7 separate regions of the Homo sapiens genome follow, and all the other regions are linked to region 1. Evidence: promoter capture Hi-C in 16 types of primary human blood cells and fetal thymus (Javierre and others, 2016). All regions are on one chromosome and are shown on one strand. The core of a region is centred on a gene start or on the middle of the fragment in contact, and the rest is flanking DNA. Distances in the headings are between cores, read along the strand shown. Region 1 holds the start of IL6R (interleukin 6 receptor). Region 2 overlaps CKS1B (CDC28 protein kinase regulatory subunit 1B). Region 3 overlaps EFNA4-EFNA3 (EFNA4-EFNA3 readthrough). Region 4 overlaps PYGO2 (pygopus family PHD finger 2). Region 5 overlaps ZBTB7B (zinc finger and BTB domain containing 7B). Region 6 holds the start of ZBTB7B (zinc finger and BTB domain containing 7B). Region 7 holds the start of SLC50A1 (solute carrier family 50 member 1).

What was found. The method cuts DNA at HindIII sites, captures the fragments that hold promoters and counts their contacts. A CHiCAGO score of 5 or more calls a contact.
Region 2: a fragment that was not itself captured here is called in contact with the fragment with the promoter of IL6R in region 1 in 1 of 17 cell types (activated CD4 T cells); the score reaches 5.8 in activated CD4 T cells.
Region 3: a fragment that was not itself captured here is called in contact with the fragment with the promoter of IL6R in region 1 in 3 of 17 cell types (activated CD4 T cells, non-activated CD4 T cells and naive CD4 T cells); the score reaches 6.5 in activated CD4 T cells.
Region 4: a fragment that was not itself captured here is called in contact with the fragment with the promoter of IL6R in region 1 in 1 of 17 cell types (non-activated CD4 T cells); the score reaches 7.1 in non-activated CD4 T cells.
Region 5: a contact is called between a fragment that was not itself captured here and the fragment with the promoter of IL6R in region 1, in 2 of 17 cell types (activated CD4 T cells and naive CD4 T cells). The highest score is 5.7, in activated CD4 T cells.
Region 6: a contact is called between the fragment with the promoter of ZBTB7B here and the fragment with the promoter of IL6R in region 1, in 2 of 17 cell types (non-activated CD4 T cells and naive CD4 T cells). The highest score is 8.2, in non-activated CD4 T cells.
Region 7: a fragment that was not itself captured here is called in contact with the fragment with the promoter of IL6R in region 1 in 1 of 17 cell types (activated CD4 T cells); the score reaches 5.9 in activated CD4 T cells.

Annotation. Positions count from the first base shown.
Region 1 is chr1:154,404,066-154,406,765 of GRCh38, reverse strand. It overlaps IL6R (interleukin 6 receptor), which reads right to left and starts at 1,423. Exons shown (of 10, transcript NM_000565.4): 1 at 1,052-1,423. The coding sequence starts at 1,136. IL6R-AS1 (IL6R antisense RNA 1) reads left to right here and starts at 202. Exons shown (of 2, transcript NR_147855.1): 1 at 202-327. RefSeq lists an enhancer at 293-899 and silencers at 1,139-1,288, 1,489-1,618. The HindIII fragment of the contact is 4,036 bases long and covers 1-2,700 here.
Region 2 is chr1:154,975,996-154,978,775 of GRCh38, reverse strand. It overlaps CKS1B (CDC28 protein kinase regulatory subunit 1B), which reads right to left. Exons shown (of 3, transcript NM_001826.3): 2 at 662-789; 3 at 1-51. Among named protein-coding and RNA genes, the nearest start is that of MIR4258, 1.7 kb to the right of the region's middle. The HindIII fragment of the contact is 2,679 bases long and covers 1-2,651 here.
Region 3 is chr1:155,064,951-155,067,650 of GRCh38, reverse strand. All of the region lies in intron 1 of EFNA4-EFNA3 (EFNA4-EFNA3 readthrough), which reads right to left. EFNA4 (ephrin A4) reads right to left here. Exons shown (of 4, transcript NM_005227.3): 2 at 635-921; 3 at 211-279. It overlaps ADAM15-EFNA4 (ADAM15-EFNA4 readthrough), which reads right to left. Exons shown (of 26, transcript NR_176418.1): 24 at 635-921; 25 at 211-279. Among named protein-coding and RNA genes, the nearest start is that of DCST1-AS1, 2.3 kb to the right of the region's middle. RefSeq lists an enhancer at 2,459-2,700. The HindIII fragment of the contact is 2,537 bases long and covers 106-2,642 here.
Region 4 is chr1:154,956,914-154,959,613 of GRCh38, reverse strand. It overlaps PYGO2 (pygopus family PHD finger 2), which reads left to right. Exons shown (of 3, transcript NM_138300.4): 3 at 1-2,588. The coding sequence ends at 835. Among named protein-coding and RNA genes, the nearest start is that of PBXIP1, 2.2 kb to the right of the region's middle. RefSeq lists an enhancer at 1-329. The HindIII fragment of the contact is 1,034 bases long and covers 734-1,767 here.
Region 5 is chr1:155,018,189-155,021,150 of GRCh38, reverse strand. It overlaps ZBTB7B (zinc finger and BTB domain containing 7B), which reads right to left. Exons shown (of 3, transcript NM_001256455.2): 3 at 2,628-2,962. DCST2 (DC-STAMP domain containing 2) reads left to right here. Exons shown (of 15, transcript NM_144622.3): 15 at 2,391-2,624. The coding sequence ends at 2,607. Among named protein-coding and RNA genes, the nearest start is that of DCST2, 14 kb to the left of the region's middle. The HindIII fragment of the contact is 1,168 bases long and covers 884-2,051 here.
Region 6 is chr1:155,001,487-155,004,458 of GRCh38, reverse strand. It overlaps ZBTB7B (zinc finger and BTB domain containing 7B), which reads right to left and starts at 1,657. Exons shown (of 3, transcript NM_001256455.2): 1 at 1,516-1,657. RefSeq lists silencers at 389-508, 2,219-2,408, 2,519-2,758. The HindIII fragment of the contact is 14,435 bases long and covers 1-2,972 here.
Region 7 is chr1:155,135,256-155,138,065 of GRCh38, reverse strand. It overlaps SLC50A1 (solute carrier family 50 member 1), which reads right to left and starts at 2,214. Exons shown (of 6, transcript NM_018845.4): 1 at 2,075-2,214; 2 at 1,690-1,767; 3 at 1,115-1,238; 4 at 344-505; 5 at 1-87. The coding sequence starts at 2,154. RefSeq lists a silencer at 2,174-2,413 and an enhancer at 2,684-2,773. The HindIII fragment of the contact is 2,419 bases long and covers 137-2,555 here.

The DNA.
Region 1 (2,700 bases), core at 174-2,673:
CAGACACTCCAGCTCAGCCTCTAGTTGCAGAAAGTCACCTCCTCAAAGGGAGAGATCAGTGTTCACCTAGGACTGGAATTCAGTGTGATCTAGTGGTTGAAAGTCTTAGCCTTCAGCCTCCCCAGCCTGTCAGCTGTTCCAGAAGCCTGTCAGCTGCCCCTTAGTTTTCTGCTGTGTCCTCAAAGAAGCACTGGGACCCTAAAATAAACCTCTGGAGAGCCAGTTGCCCAACTCTTCCAGAAGAGAGACTAGACACGCAGCTGGGCATGCGGCCAGAGCCCAAGAAAAGCCTGGTTTGCCAGGGGCAGATTACAGTCAACGGGAGCAGTAAGTGCCTCTGCCCTCTCCCTCACGGGTCCTTCTCTTTTCTAGAGGGGAGTCCAGCACGTGCCAGCCCCAGGAGGTCTCACTCCCTTGCCAGCCTCCCGACTCAATTCCCAGGACTGGGGCACTTGGCTTCCCAGAGTTGGTGGCTGCCAAAGTGACTCCGTGCAGCGGGAAGATCCGTGACTCAGCGCCCGTGATGTCAGTCCCTTCATAGTCAGGGCACTGTCATCCACACATGCACCCGCGGGGGTGGGGGGAGGACCAGGCGAGGTGGACCCCCAATGCAGAGGGAGAAGAGGGGCGCTGGTACAAAGGACTCCCCAGGCGGGTACATCACCCCGCTGGGGCGCGCCCTCTCGGGCAGTCTCCCCTTAGAGTAACCTGGGACGCGGTTGTGTAAAGGCTCCTGGGGGCACTGGGAAGGAAGCTCGAGAGTCAGGTTTGCAAGGACACAGTCCTGTACACAGACCGCAGGGTTCCCGCACAGCTTCACCGGGCATTCCGGGGAGCGCTCCGGACCAAGGGAGCAAGCGCAGCAGGGGGCGCAAGAGCCACTACCCGCGACCACACAGCTAGGTACCCGCGGGGCCTCAAGGCAGCCACAGAAAAGGGGATCCGTCGCACCTCCTTTCCTCCCTCCAGCCTCCCACAGACTGCGGTGACCAAGGCGGTTTCCCCCAGCCGCTAGCTGCCCCAGCCCTCCAGGTGCGCCCGAAGCCCTTACCCTGCGCAGGGCAGCGCCTTGGGGCCAGCGCCGCTCCCGGCGCGGCCAGCAGGGCAGCCAGCAGCGCGCAGCCGACGGCCAGCATGCTTCCTCCTCGGCTACCACTCCATGGTCCCGCAGAGGCGGACAGGCTAATGGGAACCGGGCGGCAGGGGTGGCAGGGGCGGGGCGGGGCGGTGGGCGGGCAGGCGGGCTCAGGCCCCGGGGGCAGCCCCCATCCGCAGGAGCCCGGCTCTCTACACACACTGCGAGTCCCTCGGCCCCGCGCCGCGCTCGGCTCCTCTCCCTCTGGCCCGGCTCAGTGTCAGTGCGACTTCCCACTCGCACATGACTCAGAGCGGCGGACGGTCCTGGCAACGCAGGAAAACATTTGAGGAACTCGCGCTGGAGCGTCTCTGGGCCGTCCCAGGGTGCGGTTACGAAAGCCGGAGCGGATGGCGCAACAGCCCCGCGCACCGGCCGACCGAGGGGGTGGCTTCCTGCCACAGCGCCGCACCTGAGCGGGGAGAACAGGGGACCGCCAGCCCCACCAGAGCCCTTCCTCCCGGTTCTGTTGATGAGAAAAGGGCGTATCAGCCACCAGTGGGCAGTGGCCTAGTTTTGATTTTTGGTTTCGTGAACGGGATTACGCTGTGAAAGGCACACCTGGAGAGCCCTCGAGGAGGCGATGTTCCTCTTACCCTTAGGGTAAAACAGTGCTTGGTAGCCCGGTTGCCCACTGGAATCAGCCAGGAGCCCTAAAACCCACCAATGTCTGGGTCGGGTCTCCAGAGATTCTGATTTCATCGGTCTGGGGTGAGGCTTGGGCATCGGAAGACTCACCACCGTAAAGGCACAGTCTTTCTGCCCAGCTGCTCCTCGCAGGCTGCAGCAGAGGCAAGGAAACGGTTTGGACTTTGCAGTCAGATAGACCTGGGTCCCCATTTAGACCTACCATCTACTGTGTCTGTGACTTCGGTTCAGAATCTGAGTCTCCATTTCCTCATCTGTCAGAGATAAGAAAGCCTATGCTGCCCAGGGTTATTAGGAAGGTTCTGTGGATGGCACCTAAACACCTGACACACGGTCTGGGCCACACGTGCTCAGTAGACATCAGAACGTTCATGGCTGCCCTCCTGACTTGACAGACAGACACTAACACCAGGGGCAGTGGCTCACGCCTGTAACCCCAACACTTTGGGAGAGCCGGGTGGGTGGATTGCTTCAGTCCAGGAATTCTAGACCAGCCTGTGTAACAAAGTGAGACCCCCATTTCTATAAAAAAATTTAAAAATTAGCTGGGTGTGGTGGTACACACCTATAGTCCCAGCTACTAGGGAAGCTGAGGTGGGAAAATTGCTTGAGTCCGGGAGATCCAGGGTACAGTGAGCCGTGATTGGGGGCTGCTACTCCAGCCTGGATGACAGTGAGACCCTGTCTGGAAAGAAAAAAAAAAAAAGAAAAGAAAGAAAGAAAAGGAAGGGAGGAGGGAGGGAGGGAGGGAAGGAGGGATAGAGGGGAAGGAAGGAAAGGAAGGAGAGAAAAAAAGAAAGAAACAAGCACCTGGCTTTTGAGCAACCACAAGGACCTTGAAGGGGACCATCTGTCCGTCCCTTGGAGGGGAACTCTCTCAAGGACCCCCACAGAGCCTAAAGCTGATAGGATGGCCT
Region 2 (2,780 bases), core at 63-2,562, 570 kb before region 1:
ATTTCTTTGGTTTCTTGGGTAGTGGGCGCCGGAACAGCAAGATGTGAGGTTCTGAAAGAGTGAGGGAAATCTAAGAGACAAGCTCACACCATTCTATGTACAACCTATAGTGTATTCCACTACCACCTCCCCAGCTATCACCCACTCAGATCTTTATAACTAAATAAAGACTTAAGCATATGGCCTTAGAAGCAGACCCAGAAGTCTGGACTGTCTGCCAAGTACAGAATTGTTAATATCAGTTCTTTTGCTATGTTTATACAGCCCCAGGGTGTCCCTTATTAGTTTTGCCTGGCAGCTGGGTGTCTGGTGTCTTATCAATAAATATACTTTCCTTTGCTTATTTAGAACACATCCAAGAATGTTTTCGATGGAGAATGAGGCAGGGGCTATGATCAGGCTATATGTGGCCTTAAAAAGAATACCCTCTGATTGAATGAAAGATTACAGGAGGTTTTTCAGTGACAGGTTGTCTCTGAACTTCCCAGATATTTTAGTCTTATTTTTGGTCACTAGTTTTTTTTTAAAAAAATCCCCCACGACTGGAGGGGGAAGGAACCAGTAAACCATTTCCTATCTCCCTATTTGGGTTATACAATCTTATTCTTTCATTCTCTCAGTGTAGCAGTTCTATATGGTTGTTTTTAGCCAGTGCACTGACCTGGTTCATGGATCATATAATGGACCCATCCCTGACTCTGCTGAACGCCAAGATTCCTCCATTCAGATTCAGACATCAGATGGGTTTTAGGGACCAGCTTGGCTATGTCCTTGGGCAGCATGACATGTCTGTAACAGAAACGGGGAAGTGGGGAATTTATGTTAGTACCAGATACAGTCTCTTAGACAAATGCCTGTTTACAAGGCCAAGAAAGGAAAGAAAAACTGGTTTTTGATGTCAGAGTTTATATAATTTTATTGTGGGGTAGCAGCAGCTAGAAATACAGGCTATGTTATATAAATTCCGAGAGTATATTAAAAATACAAATTAGTGAATAATTCCAGTGAATGAGCACTTAAGTTCAAGGCACATTTTCTCCGCCTTCATGGACCTTATAGTCTTCTAGTTGATTATCTACAACATAATGGGAGCCCCACGGAGCACACAGTGTTAATAATTAGAAGGAAGGAAGAGAAGTTATTTTGTGGCGAGGAAAGGCCTTTTATGAAGTACTGTGTGGACAAGTTATTACAAAGGATGAAATGAACTATCTTGTCCTTTAAAATCTAAGCCAGGCATGGTGGCACAAACCTACAGTCCCAGCTACTTGGGAGGCTGAGGCAGGAGGGTCATTTGAACCCAGGAGTTTGAAAAAGATACAGTATGAAGTTTGAAATCTGATTAAAATACAGAAGAAATAGGCCAGGGGCGGTGGCTCATGCCTGTAATCCCAGCACTTTGGGAGGCTGAGGTGGGTGGATCACTTGAGGTCAGGAGTTGGAGACCAGCCTGACCAACAACGTGAAACCCCGTCTCTACTAAAAATACAAAAATTAGCCGGGTGTGGTGGCATGCACCTGTAATCCCAGCTATTTGGGAGGTTGAGGCAGGAGAGAATCCCTTGAATCCAGGAGGCGGAGGTTGCAGTGAGCTGAGATCTGGGCGATAGAGTGAGATTCCGTCTCAAAAAAAGAGAAAAAAAATAAGAAAAAAGAAAGGGCTGCAATGCACAATGGTTGTGCCTGTGAATAGCCACTGCACTCCAGTCTGGGCAACAAAGCAAGACCTTGTCTCTTAAAAAAAAAATTAAATCTATCCTGAATCTTATTTTCCTAACTCTGGAGGGATGTACCTTGAGACTTTCTGGGTAAATTCCGTGCTTTTCTAACCAAGGATAAGTCTCCCTTCATAGCAAAAAAATTATTACCCTGATGTGAATCAAACTAATCCACATAGTCTTCGTCATGCTCAATGAAAATGTACTAAGTTCTCCCTCTGTGCTAGTAACAGTGATTCCCCACCATTCTCCTAAAAGAAAAAATTCTAGTCCAAATATAATGAAAATAGCTCACATTCTAACACCACCCTGGCACGAAATTTGGCTTCAATACATACACCAAAAAACCCCTCTTAAACCAAAGTGCCACTGCCAAGAGTTTCATCTTCCAGGGGATGAAATGGTGATTCCTTCCCAGCTCCACAAATCTCTTATAAGCACATACAGTTTTAAGTTAGTTTAGTTCAGATGTAGAGGAAAACAGCTGAGGAAAAGAAAGTTAATTAAAGGAGGGTCTGGAGCCGTCTTGGCATAAAGATGATTATGTATTTGTCAATGCACATCGAGTTCTCTGGAAGACCCAAAGCCCTGAACTAGGCTGGGTGAAGAGACACAAGAAAAGCAAGTTTTCATTTTATGTTCTCCAACTGAGGAGACAAGATACAAACCAGGAAGTGGTCTTAATTATTACAATTAATACAGATTAGCATAATGCCAACATTTGTGGAATCCTGTGTCTTCCCTTATTCCCAATCTAGATTATGCACTTAAAATTTATCAAGCCCGAATGCCACATCCAGTGCCAGGATTCCATCATCACCATCCTTGGCAGATGGCTATCCAGTGTCTTCTAAACAATTTCAGTCAAGAGGTGCTTCCTCCCACATACCTTTTTCTTAGAGTCTCATCTCAGGCTCTGCCCTCTAGGAAGCTTTCCCCAACATTCCCTCTTCCGTTTTTCCTCTCAGTATTTTAAGTTTCATGTTCAAGGGTACATGTGCAGGTTTGTTATATAGGTAAAATCCTGACTCGGGGGTTCGGTGTACAGGTTATTTCATCACC
Region 3 (2,700 bases), core at 125-2,624, 660 kb before region 1:
GACTCCGTCTAAAACCAAAACAAAACAAAACAGAAGTGGGGAGAGGATGGTGCAGTAGAAGCTCCCTCAAGGCTAAATGGGGAGAAGAGACCACAGCTTGAAGCTTCACCAGGACCCCTGGAGTCTGATCCTCCTAGATTCTTCTCACTCCTTCCCTCCTTCCCAAGGCCCCACATTAGCCAGTAGGGTCCATGCTCCCAACCCACTTACTCCTCTCCTTGCAGCAGACAGACACCTGGAGCCTCAAGCACTGGCCAGAACTCTCTGGAGTGGGCACCGCTGGGTAGTGGGAAAGTGGGAAAAAGTTAGCACAGGGAGTCACCCCTTTGTATGCCTCAGACTGTTTCAGACCCTCCCAGGTTTTCTTCTCTCCAGGTCCCTGGAAAGCGTTTCCTTACTTTGGGGCCACACCCATGTATCAGGCCCCATCCAGTCCTCTCATCTCCCTGGCCCCCTTTCCTAGCTCCTCCTACTTTCTCCTTTCTAGACATTTCCCTCCTCAGTCCTGAGTTCAGCCCATACCTCAACCCGATGTACATTAGAGACCCAGCCCCCTCCTCCTTCCAGGCCTCTCCTTCCCCCTCCCTACCCTTCTGGTACACAAGAGGTGTCCAGTGTGCCCTTGGCCACTCACAGATGTAGTAGTAAGTCTCTCCAGGTAAGAACTCAAAGCCGAGGGAGAAGGGTGTGAAGCGCTGAATCTTCTCTGAGAATTGAACATGGCCAAAGGGCAGGGAGCACACCCAGCGCTTGTAGGCCCGGGGGCCCTCTGCCTGGCAGGACTCATAGCCTGGCCAGTCCACCATGTACAAAGCAAACGTCTCGGGGCCCTCAGGGGGCCCTGGGCCTTCGTAGTGGGGGCAGACAATGTCTAGGTAATCGTTGAGGCCCAGCTCCACCACGGCGTCTCCTCGAAGCAACCTGCAGGCATAACGCAGGGGTGGGCTGAGGAGTGGAGGGCACCACGCCATGGCCATGGATGCCAGAGACACCCCTTCTCAGAGGCCCCTGCCAGCCTCTCCTCCACCCATGTGCGATGGAGCAGCTCAGGAAGGCCCGAGGTTCCCAGACTGACAACTCTTGAGAGACAAAGAGAGTGCAAGAAATGGATGAGATGATCGATTCACAGGTTCCGAGAGGCTAAGACCTGCAGTGCCCATAACCACACAGCTTAGATGTGAGAAGGAGGGTCACCACACCCTGTCCTACAGGCTGGAGCTGCCACACACCTCTCTAGCTCCAGTGCCCAACACTCAATGTGGTATAGCACCAGGCTTGATCAATGTCAGGTGGATGGATGCTGTGAAGAAGCTGGGCAGAGAGGCAGGAGGTACAGTTGCACACAGTGCAGCTGCAGACACAGAGGTGGAAACAGGGGTTGGGAAAGGTCTCCTCAAACAGATATAAAGTGAGGAACACTGTCCTTTAGACTGACTTCAACCCAAGGGTGAAAAGAATGTCACGGTAAAAAAAGAATGAGGGAGGCCAGGTGTGGTGGCTCACATCTGAATCCCAGCACTTTGGGAGGCCGAGGTGGGAGGATCGCTTGAGGCCAGGAGTTCAAGACCAGCCTGGGCAACATGGTGAGACTGTCTCTACCATAAATAAATAAATAGGCTGGGCGCGGTGGCTCACGCTTGTAATCCCAGCACTTTGGGAGGCTGAGGCGGGCGGATCATGAGGTCAGGAGATCAAGACCATCCTGGCTAACACGGTGAAACCCCGTCTCTACTAAGAATATAAAAAGAAAACTAGCCGGGCGTGGTGGCGGGCACCTGTAGTCCCAGCTACTTGGGAGGTTGAGGCAGGAGAATGGCGTGAACCCGGGAGGCGGAGCTTGCAGTGAGCCGAGATTGCGCCACTGCACTCCAGCCTGGGAGACAGAGCGAGACTCCATCTCAAAAAATAAATAAATAAATAAATAAATAAATAAATAAATAAATAAATAAAGGCCATGAGTGGTGGTGCACTCCTGTAGTCCCAGCTACTTGGGAGGCTGAGGCGGGAGGATCCTTAGAGTCCGCAAGTTCCTGTAGTGAGCTATTATGCCACCGCACTACAGCCTGGGTGACAGAGCAAGACCCTGTCTCTAAATTCTAAAAATTAAAAAAAAAAAAAAAAAAAGAATGAGGGAGTGGGTGCTAGGTGCCTCCCTTTTTTGGCCAGGAGGAGCAAGTGCCAGGCATGGGGGGAGTCCACATACTACCCAGTCTTCAGTCTTCTCAGGACTCCCTTCCCCACCTCTTGGGAGCTGCCTGGGGAAGCCAGCACAGGTGGGAAGGGCTGGAAGGGGCTGCTCCCCACAGTACTGAATGCTGCATGAACCACCCCCCATACCACAAACACAGCGAAGCATGACTTAGGAAAAGCCTCCAGTGGGTGGTCCAAGGACGACCTGTATCAGTTCTGATTAGAAATGAAGATTCCTGGGCTCAGCCAGCCCAGACTTACTAGAACGCAAGCTGAGCAAGGACAGGGCCTTGGTAAGTTTTGTTCTACTGCATCCCCCGTGCCTGGAAAAGTGCCCAGCACAGGACAGTGTTCAATAAATATTTGTGGATTGAATGAATGAGCCAGAAACCTTAAGATTGGGGGGTGAGAAACCTGAATTTTTAACAGGTCCTCCAAGTGATTCAGAAGCTTTGGTCTGTGACAGAGATAGAGAATTCAGAGTCCAAGGACAACAAAAGCTCTTATCAC
Region 4 (2,700 bases), core at 1-2,500, 550 kb before region 1:
CCGTCGACAGCCACCCCCCTTCCCTCCCAATCCTATGGGCCCTGCTTTCAACATGCCCCCCCAGGGTCCTGGCTACCCACCCCCAGGCAACATGAACTTTCCCAGCCAACCCTTCAACCAGCCTCTGGGTCAAAACTTTAGTCCTCCCAGTGGGCAGATGATGCCGGGCCCAGTGGGGGGATTTGGTCCCATGATCTCACCCACCATGGGACAGCCTCCCAGAGCAGAGCTGGGCCCACCTTCTCTGTCCCAACGATTTGCTCAGCCAGGGGCTCCTTTTGGCCCTTCTCCTCTCCAGAGACCTGGTCAGGGGCTCCCCAGCCTGCCGCCTAACACAAGTCCCTTTCCTGGTCCGGACCCTGGCTTTCCTGGCCCTGGTGGTGAGGATGGGGGGAAGCCCTTGAATCCACCTGCTTCTACTGCTTTTCCCCAGGAGCCCCACTCAGGCTCCCCGGCTGCTGCTGTTAATGGGAACCAGCCCAGTTTCCCCCCGAACAGCAGTGGGCGGGGTGGGGGCACTCCAGATGCCAACAGCTTGGCACCCCCTGGCAAGGCAGGTGGGGGCTCCGGGCCCCAGCCTCCCCCAGGCTTGGTGTACCCATGTGGTGCCTGTCGGAGTGAGGTGAACGATGACCAGGATGCCATTCTGTGTGAGGCCTCCTGCCAGAAATGGTTCCACCGTGAGTGCACAGGCATGACTGAGAGCGCCTATGGGCTGCTGACCACTGAAGCTTCTGCCGTCTGGGCCTGCGATCTCTGCCTCAAGACCAAGGAGATCCAGTCTGTCTACATCCGTGAGGGCATGGGGCAGCTGGTGGCTGCTAACGATGGGTGACGCTGGTGAAGTGGCCCAGGGAAGTGCACATGTCTCTCCCTGCTCTTCCAGGGTGATTTTTTTGATGTTTGGCTCTTGGTCCTTGTTTCCACTGGCTTTCCATCCCCATGGGGCAGAAACAGTGGCTCCTGGGAGCAGAAAAGGAATTGAGGTGGGCAGGCAGAAGAGCCTGGATTGCTCACTGTTTTGGGAAACTTACATGTTGAGATCTACAGAGATCCAGGAAACCAAAGCCCTGCTGAGCAGAGCCATTTTGTGGCTATTTCTGGAGGCCCAGGAGTGTGGCTGCAAGAGAAAAGGGGCTGGAGGAAGATCCGGAGGGCAGGGGTGTTCCCTCTGCTGATGATGGATGCCCCTAACACCTGTGCCTAACACCCCTACTGAACCCCACAGCTCCAGCCTTAGTTTTTGGAGTCAAGTGTTAAAGGTTTCTGGCCAGAGGAATTGGGGTCTTGCCATCCCTGCAATAGCCCTTTTATGGGCTCTGGGAGACAGCTTTAGGGAATAAATGGGGATTTTCCCCTTTTTCTACCCACTCCTTTGCTTCCTCCAAGACTTACCCAACTCCTTCCCCCTCAGAGAACCAAATAGCCTGAGGAAGCAGGAGAGTTCCTGGTTATGGCAGTTTCTTGGTGATTTGGGGCTTCAAGACAGTAGGTGAGAGATGCTGTCAGGACGTATCTTCTTCATACCAAAGTCACTGGTCCTTTCTCAGCCTCTCTCGTGCTTTTCTCCTAATGACCATATTTTTGCCAAAAATTGGGATATGTTATCTGACAGACCAGAATATTTGAAGTTTGGGCTGTCCTGAAAGTCTGGACTTTGGTGGTACCCTCCTCCCCCAGCCCATCTGTTGCACATTATACTCCGTGTGTTCTTCAACTTTCGGCGCCCTTATTCCCCTGCCTTCCTGGCTTGATTGAAGGAAAGCTTGAAAAGGCGCAGAGCCCTATACCTCATTTCCTCCATGATAAAAGGATCCAAGTGAGGCCCTGTCACAGCCTGTGGGTAGGGGATGCGGCGGGATCCTCATTGCCATGGTACTCAAAGGTAGAAGAGCCTGGAGTTTGTTGCTTCTCTTTGCTATTCTTTCATATCCTCTTGGGCCTGGTGATTAATTAGCAATTCTCATTCCTCTCAGCCAAAGGCCTGCACTGGGCTTTATTTGTCTTTTTTTATTTTTTAAGCACTGCCTGCCAGAGATGGGCCTGGGGCCTGATGAGGACCTTAGCGCTGCTCGTTCTCCTTTTCTGTTCATGCACACATTCCTCCATGGGGTGGGGAAGGCAGGCATGGGGTGTGGCCCTCGGAGAAGTTAGGAGTCCCCCAGCTCAAGATACAGTGGCAAAGACCTAGTGGTCCCCTACCCCCACTTCTCTCAGTTCCTGGCATGAGGAGAGAAGACCCTGCTCTGGTGGAGCTGACAACCTTTGAGGCTGGGAGGAGAGCAGCCTCTGGGCATCGTTCCCAGTGTCCCTCACACTAAAACGGCGTAGATGGCAACCCCCCACCCCCACCCCGCTGCTCAACTCTTGTGTTTGTTGTTCTGTTTGCCCCATTTATCTGTTGCTGTTTTTGTGTTGTCTTCCCCTGCTCCGCATTTTGTAAAATGGCCCCTGGGGGAGTGTTTTTGCTGGATCTGCTCCCTCTCGCTCTCTCACTCCACTACTTTTTGGAACAAAGTGATGGCAGAATGCGGTGGTGGTGGGGGTCTTTTGTACTGTTGGATTAATAAAATGATTTTAAAATCCCAGACAAGGACTCCTTGCTGTTGCTGTGTGAAAAGGCTGGAATGAGCCGCTGTCACTGCTGGGTAGGGTGCTTAGGGGTTGAGGATATGTATGCTCCCCAGGGTCCCTGGGAGT
Region 5 (2,962 bases), core at 218-2,717, 610 kb before region 1:
CACGCACCTGTTAGTCCCAGCTACTCAGGAGGCTAAGGCAGGAGAATTGATTGAACCTGGGAGGTGGAGGTTGCAGGGAGCTAAGATTGTGCCACCGCATTTTAGCCTGGGTGACAGAGGGAGGATTGGTCTCAATAAATAAATAGGTAATAATACAAAAATTAGCTGGGCATGGTGGCGTGCATCTTTAGTCCCAGCTTTCAGGAGGCTAAGGTGGGAGGGATCACTTGAGCCAGGGAGGCTGAGACTGCGGTGAGCCAAGATTGCACCACTGCACTCCAGCCTGGGCAATAGTACAAGACCCAGTCTCAAAAAATTAGAAGATTAAAAAAAAAAAAATCAAGTAGGATCATGTGAAGACAGGTGACAGGCAGTTAAGACATCACTGGAGTAGCTTGTGGGAATATTTTTCATGGCATCGGGAAGACCAAAACTGGATCTGTCATGATGGGTTGAGGGGTGTCAGGTAAAGAAGACTCAGAAAGGCTGGGTGTGGTGGCTCACGCCTGTAATCCTAGCACTTTGGGAGGCTGAGGCGGGCAGATCACTTGAGGTCAGGAGTTTGAAACCAGCCTGGCCAACATGGTAAAACCTTGTCTCTACTAAAAATACAAAAAATTAGGCATGGTGGCAGGCGCCTGTAATCCCAGCTACTTGGGAGGCTGAGGCAGAAGAATCACTTGAACGCGGGAGGCGGAAGTTGCAGTGAGCCGAGATCGTGCCACTGCACTCCAGCCTGGGCGACAGAGCAAGACTCTGTCTCAAAATAAATAAATAATAAAAGGACTCAGAAATATGGTATGTGGCTCCTGCATCACTGTTGCCAGGAGTTTGATAATGCTTTTAATCTAATGAGTGCTGTAGTTTGAAAAAAATGTAAGCTTGATGGTGAAGAGAAAGAGAGAGTTAGCTTCACAGAGCAAGAAAGTAGCTTGAAGGGGATTCAGCACTAAAAGGGTTTTCTAGATCTAAGAACAGGAAGATTTGAGCATTTAGGCAGTGTAAAAGCACGTTGGGGAGGGAGGTTTGGGCTCCAGGGCCAGGTGGACCAGGTGGCCTGCCTGAGAAAGGAGCAGGCTGGCAGAGGCAGAGGGGGAGAGTATAGGTTCCCCTGAGCAGCTGAGCCCACTCCAGCCTGGTGGCCTCGCTTCTCTTTGGGGAGTAGGAGGCAAGAGCACCTGCTGAGAGAGCAGAGCAGGCAGCTGGGAGTGGAATAAAGGTTTCAAGGAGTGGGTGGTAGAGGTTGAAAGACCTGCCGTGGCAAGTGTGCAAAGAAGCCGACTAGGGAGGTTAAGGGATTTCCAGGTAGCGTCAAAGGCCCAGATGATGCTGGAAGCTGTAACTTGTAATGATTGCTCCAGTGCGCTCAGTTATGTGATTTTCTCTGGCAAATGTGGTAGCCATGAATAGGATTCACAGGTGGAGGGCTTTTTCTGGGCAGGTCAGGAGGACAAGATGGAGTGAGAATTGAGGTGTCTTTGGTAAGAGTGTCTGAGATGACTGGGGAAGAGGAGGGGCTAAGGCCCCTGGGGGCAGCCCAGGGTCTCTGTCTTGATGACGTGTTAGAGCAGGGGCAGTGGCCAGGAGGGAGAGCTGGCTGAACAGGAGGGACTCAGAGAGGGGGCCATGGCCAGGGAAGAACTCTGGAATGAATCCAGTGAAAGGCCAAGGCTGAGGAAGACGTCTGAGTGGGAACAGAGATGACGGTCAATAGAACCAAGGAGGTTAGGGATTGAGAGGCCAGAGAATTGGGTGGGTCCTCTAGCGACGAGGTTGCAGGACCATACAAACAGCAGGAGTCCAGAGCCGGCATCTTAAACAGATGTGGCAGGTGTCTGGCAGGCCTGAGGAGACAGCCACAGCACTGGTGGTACAGCTATCATGGCAGCCAGGGGCTTTGCAAAAAAACACTACGGGCCAGCTGGGTTTGAGAAGGTTAAGCTGCCTCCTCTTGGGAGGACTGCAAAGAAAACTGTCCAGTGGGCACATTCCAGTGTGAATGGGGCGGTAGAGGTCATGATGAGTCAAGAGGTTGAAGGGGAAGCAAAGCTTTCTTTTCAGAGGTTCTAGAGGGCCCAGTGAAAGGATAAGCTGGGTCAGCAGAGGGGACAGCTTGAGCCTTGAGCAGGTGTGACTACTGAGGTCACTAGTGATTCTGCCCTTCCTAGCCATGTGGCCTCAGGCAAGTCACTGCCCACCCCCCAGCATCAGCCTAAAATCAGAAAATATCTACAGCCATGGGCTGGTACGCCTCGTGGGCCTGAGAGAGCAGGAGTTGCTCAGAAAGAACAGGAGCTGGATCTGAACAGATGGGGCAGGGCAGGGGGCAGGGATGCACCTGTGAAGACAGAAGGTGGGTGATCCGGCCACCCCCTTCCTCTCCTCACTAGTGACCTGGATGAGGAGAAGGGGCCTCAGCAGAGGAAGCACGGGCAGCAGCCCTTACCTGAAGCCCATCAGCCTGTCAGCATTCTCACCAGCCCTGAGCCCCACAGACCACCTGAGACATCCTCCGCCACTAAAGGAGCCCCCACTCCAGCTTCAGAACCCTCAGTCCCTCTCTCACCTCCCTCTCTTCCTGATCCTTCCCACCCACCCCCCAAATAAACCAAAAGTGGACACAAGTGTGAATCTTAAATTATTATTATTTCTTCCTGTCGCTTACACCCGAGGTGGGGGAGTTGGGGTGGGGGGAAGGGAATAGGAGGGGGGGAGTGCCTCTCCCCCTAAGGCACTGACTGGGAAAGCCGAAAGTAGGGAGAAGGGAGGCCACATTGTCCCCACTTTCTGGGGCTGGGCCCCAGGTCTCCCCAGCCCTGGGCTCCCCCCATCACCTGAAATGCTAAGATGAGGCCCAGGACAACCCGATCTCCCCGCCACCCCAATATATTACATCATCACTTTTTAAATAGATAACAGGGACTGGTCCCGCTACCCCCTCCCTGTGACCCCTCCCCACTGT
Region 6 (2,972 bases), core at 408-2,907, 600 kb before region 1:
CAGGCCTCATCCCCACACTCACACATACTCCCTTAGGGACCAGACAGTTCCCATCCTGCTTTAACCCCTCACAGCCCAATCTGGTTCCCCCGTCCCTGATAAGCGGTCTCCCTCCTCCAGGAATAAGTTGGGGGAAGGGGGAATAGCTGCGCTGACTCATTCCCATTCTCGGCTGCAGCTAGGGGTCTCCAAGGCATTCGGGCGGGGGTCAATTCAAGAACACCCTCCACCTGGCCCGGAAGCCTGGACAGCCTGCCGGTCTCCCCCTCTCCCCAGCACCCACTTCCGGTGTCCCAAACTAGGTCAGCAGCGCTCGTTTCCTGTGGGTCAGCTAGCACCGGCGCCTCTGCCCCTCCCCTGCTCCGGACCCAGGCTCCCCGCCCCCCTGCCCCCCAGGGCGCCCCGAGGTCTCACCATGTCTCAGCCGCCCTTTGATACGTGGGGGTTGTGCGGGGCGGGGGGCAGGGGACCCGCCCTCTCTCTAAACACCAGCAGGGCCGGGGCGCCTGGGCAGGCACGTGTCCGGGCACAACCCGCTGCCCACGCCGCCCCCCCACTCCCGCCCCCACCTCGCTCTGGCCGGGACACGTCGCTCTCTTACTTGGGATGGGGTGGGAGGAGGGAGAGAAAGCTGGAAATTGAAAGCAGCGCCCCCCACCCCTTTGAATGGCAGCCTTCTGCCAGGCGCACTCTGTAGGTTCTACAACAACACAGTAGCGACCCCCACTCTGGGCTGGGGCAGGTGCGCCGGCGCCGGTGGGGGGACGGGTAGTAGGTAGGAGAATTCTTCCTAGTCACCCGCCCTCGCTCTTGGGTTCTGTGGTCATGAGCTGGCGTGGAAAAGGTAGCGGCGGGACTGGAGCCTGAAGGAAGGGAGTGGGATTGAGGGGCAGGGAAGAGAGCGGTCGTTCTATGTCGGTTCAGAGGTTGTTGCTGAGCCCCACTACCGCTGGAGAGAGCGCGGCTCTGGAAGCGCAAGAAACCGAATAGTCCAGCCGGTAACTTTCCCCCAAGCCGCGGCTCCTCCTGCGCCCCCCCAACCCCCATGCAACTGGCCTGGGGCCAATCCACCGCGCCAGGGGGCGCGGGGTGGGGGGGGGGTGCGCGTTGTCCTAGTTAGAGTCCGTCAGCGTTTCCATTCCCTCAACTCAGTCCGGTCTGGGGTCTCCCCCTAAAGTCACGAAGGAGACTGGGGGAACGCTCAGCGTCGCCTCACCCCCTCTCCATCCCGAAGCCGTCTGTCTGTCTGATCCCAGGAGAAGTGCAGATAAACTTTCTGGGGACCCTCCGCCTAGGGTTGGGGGGCATCCGCAGTTCCTTCTCTGTCTTTCATCTCAGTTAAAACCAATTCCAGAGACCCGGGGTGTTGGGAAAGCACAGGGAAGGGGAGTGGTGGGAATGTGATCTGCATGCGTGTGTATCTGGGGGTCCCACTTACAGGACGGACGAAGGACACTGCAGTAGTCTCGAGCCTAGTGAACCCCGAGCCAGGAGACAAAAGTGGGGTACACTCACCTCTCAGCCGTCGGGTCCGCTGGCTGGAGCTGCTGAGGCTCACAGTGTGGGAAGAAGCGCGTCCCCCACCAGGCCCGGGGGCTTGGGGCCCTGCTCCGGTCCTGGTCAGAAGGCCGCGGTCAGTTGCTCGCCGCTCGCTGCTGGGGGGCTCCTCCTCCGCCGCCCTCTGCCTCCTCCTGCCGCCCGCCCCCCCTCGGCCGCCAAGAGCCGTACATTCACCTGGCTCCCACCCGCCCCCCCCTCAGGGCCCGCCTCACCTGTCCTGCTGTCTCACCTGTCCTCCAGCTTGCTTTCCCCCCATCCCTCCCCTCCCTCCCCCCGCCCCTGCCACCCCCCAAACTCCCCCCCCCCAACACTTAGAAACACCCTCTGTCACTTCCTGGTTTTTCACCCGCCCCCCCAGGCCCCCTCCCTCCGCCCAATAAGGACATAAACTTCAACCCCTTCGTCCAGCCAGTCCCTGCAGAGCGCAGATGGGTCCCTCCCTCCTTTTTTGCCCCCTTCTCCAAACTCTTACTTAGCTCTCCTAGCCTTTCCCACCCTCCTCCTTTCCCTCCTTCTTTCCTTCTCTCTGTCTCCCTTCACCTGCCGCGGTCCCTCTCTCCCCCCCCTTTCTCCTGCCCCTATCTCTCCCAGTCCACCTTAACTCAAACTCCGCCCCCGGCCCCCATCCAGCCCTTTGCTGCTGCTCTGCCCGCCCCCTGCACGCCACCGCCCTGTCCGCTCATTGGCCTGAATACCCGCTCATCTCCAGTAGGTCTCGCCTTGCGTTCGTCCAGGGAGGGGGCGGAGCCGAGGGGCTGGCCTGGAACCTGGAGAGGAGGGGGGAGGGGGCAGTGTCCGCAGCGGCCAGGGAATCGAGCACCCCCTACAGGGGCTCCCTCTCCTTCAAGAGGGGCTTCTGTAGGGTCAGGACCTCAGGAGGGAAGGGTATGAGAGGTTAGGGATAGGCTGGGTGGGGGTGAATTGGGGACTTAGGGTCTTGAGGGAGGGGGTCCCGTGAGGGGCTGTAATCAGGTCAGGGACCTAGAAGGGAGGGGGAGGGGGAGCCACCAGGCCTTCGGCTCCGGCCCCTACGCCCCACCCCCTCTCGGAGGGAGCCGGGGAGTTGAGCCTGCGGGCGCCCTGCGTCCCTCCCCACGCGTGACGGTGCCCCGCGGGGAGGGAAGGGCGCCCCAGGCAAGCAGCCTCTGTGCTGTCGCCAGTGCCCGCTGCGGCCTTGGCATTGTCGGAGGGGAGGGGCCCAGTCTGCGAAGGGGGAGGGGGCGCGCCGACGCTTTTGCTCCCCACCTCCATCCCGCGGGTTCCCTAAGTGGAGAAACTGAGTCTCCACCGAGGAGGGATAGCTTGACATGAATTCGCTGAGAGACCCAGGTGGCGAGGGGTGCCTGGATGTTTTGGGATGTGTGGTATGTGTAGGTTTTGGGGAGGACCGGGATAAATACTTAGGAGTCCCC
Region 7 (2,810 bases), core at 97-2,596, 730 kb before region 1:
GAGGCACCAGGAGGCAGAGGTGAGAAGGGTAGCAATGGTGAGTGGGTAGGAGAGACATTGGGTTGATTTAGTTTGAATCACCTTAGCCTGTGGGAAAGAATGGAAGACTCTCTTGGCCCAAGCACATCGTAAAGCTTCACTTGCCTAAGAATTTCCTCAAGAAAAAGGTCAGACACCCTCCCTGATCTGTCACCCAACCTTTCCTGCCTCCCACTCGCCCACTTCTACTGCCTTGTCTTCTTCCAGGGTTTGGATCTCCCCTTCCTCGGGACTGTAAGCCATAGTATTTGGCTATGAGAGCCTGACTCTTATCTCTCCTACCTCCTTGGACACCCCCACTCACCAAGTCAGCCAGTGGTGAGAGGTACATGCTGATGGTGAAGACACTGCAGAAGAGGCCCAACTGCTGAAGCCGGGCCTCAGGGTTGGGTACCAGGAGCCAAAAGTAGCCATAACCCAGGAGAAGGACCCCTAGCAGGGTTGCAGTCTGTAGGAGCACAACACGCTGCAGGGGAGAGAGTACCCTTACTTCCAGATGTGCACTCTGACTTCCCTGCTAGAGTTAATTCATCCTGCCTTCTCCAGTGCTCCAATGGGGAAGCCAAGCTGTCTAGGCCTCCAGCACTGCACTGTCACAGCTTCTTTCCCACCACCAACTTGATAGGAAAGTCTTATCCACCCACAACACTGGAGACTTCTGGGGGAGATAAATATGTGTTTTTTTCTGTGTGCTTGGCACACACAGTAGGAGCTTCATAAATGCTTGTGTGATTTAGCAGGGACGCAGAGCTAATCATCTCATTCTCACCCACAGGCCCTGGCTCTGAAAGAAATATCAGAGACAAAAGCCCTTTCCCCTTAGCTTGTTGGCTGAAGCCCAGGGCAGGCAGCATAGGCATCTCAGGCTAGGCAGAGCTACCAGCCTTGCCTAAATGGGGGCAATGTGTTCATCTCAGAAGGCTGGCTTCATAGAGGAAGGGGACCTGCAAGGCTGGAGAGGCCTTCCTGGAAAAGGTGGCAGTGCCAGCTGTTACAGTCTTCTAGGAAATAGTGTTTGCCCTGCCAGCAAGGCAGGGCGTGCAGCAGATAGGTGGGTCCAAGGGAGGGCCTCTACCTTCCGAGGGCAGTAATGCAGATATGCCAAGATATACAGGGTCTGAAGCGCAGCACCCACTGTGTTGACGACGATGAGGATCCCGTCTCCCTTCAAAGCCCCATAACTCAGCCAGCCCAGGTTGCTGCAGGGTGGAGGGGATGGACATGGCTCAAAGGGTTCAGTGTGAGAGGAGGACCCAAAGGGTCTTTCACTCTTTTTTTTTTTTTGAGACGTAGTCTCGCTCTGTCGCCCAGGCTGGAGTGCGGTGGCACGATCTCGGCTCACTGCAAGCTCCGCCTCCTGGGTTCACGCCATTCTCCTGCCTCAGCCTCCCGAGTAGCTGGGACTACAGGCGCCCGGCACCACGCCCGGCTAATTTTTTGTATTTTTAGTAGAGACGGGGTTTCACCGTGTTAGCCAGGATGGTCTGGATCTCCTGACCTCGTGATCCGCCCGTCTCGGCCTCCCAAAGTGCAGGGATTACAGGCGTGAGCCACCGCGCCCGGCCAAACCTCTTTCACTCTTGCTCCTCCTGCCCCGCCCCCACCTCCCTCTGGTAGCCTTTCCCACTACCGCAGCCGTCGGCCCCTCACTTGACTTCCGTGGTGAGAAAGGGCAGGAACTGGACGTTGTCCACACTCCGGGTCATTCGCATGTGCCTGAGGTCCGAGCTGTAATGGGGCCCCGAAGGGAGGGGTGGGGGTGGGAAGGGAGAAGCAGAGTGCTAGAGGGGGATGCCCAATGCCTGTCATCCTTTCCGGACCACCGCAGACCCCGCCCCCTCTCCCCCCCGCCAGCTATCCTGCCTTCTCCTTCAGGCCTAGTGACCAGCCTCGCCCTTGTACCCCGGTCCCCTCGACCCGATCCCACTTTGATCCCGGTTCCGGACGAGCCAGGTGCTGTGGCCACGTCTCTGTCCCCTCTCTCTCCTTTCCTGACTGCCTAGTCCTCCCCAACCCAGCCCGGCCGCACTCTCACAGGCCGGCGGAGAACATGCCAAGGGTGAAGACCACGCATGCTCCGTAAATGAGCGAGTCCAGAAAGCCGCCCGCCTCCATTACGACTAGAGTCGGATCCCGCGCCCAGCGCCCGCCGCGAGCCTGCGGTTGCCGGGACCTACTGCAGCCCAGACCTGCGGCTCTGGAGCCCCGCCCCGCGCACTCGGCTCCGCCCCCGCACGCTCGGGCCGTCCCTCCGGAAACTGCGCCGAAGCCCCACCCTCCCTCCGACGCCGAACCGGAACTCGCGCCCCTCTCCTCCGAGCGCCTTCCCAGTACCCTGGTCCAGACCTCTTCCATGTCCCGGTCAGTCCCCTTCCTAGGGCTCCGCGGGTGTGTCCCCGATACCTGCCGCTGCTCACACTCTGCCTACCCCTTGGATCATCTAGACGCCCCCAGTCTCAACGCTCGTGTTCCCACAGGCCTGTGCGCCTTCGGCGGTGGACCTCCAAACAAAAGCTTGCTAGTTTAACAAGACTTCAGCACGCTTTCCATCCAGAGCTCCACATCAGAACCTCAGTTGCCCAGGGTTTGGGAAGTTTTTTTCTGGAGTGTGCTGCCGAAGCTTTTTCTCAAAATAACACATTACCAGGAATCACCAAGCCTTCCTCTTTTGCCCTCCCTCTCGGGTCAACTTTACATGACGTGGCCAATCCACTGACGCCTCTATCACTGACCCCCGGTCCAACCCACTTGTTACTGGGAACTTTCCCTCC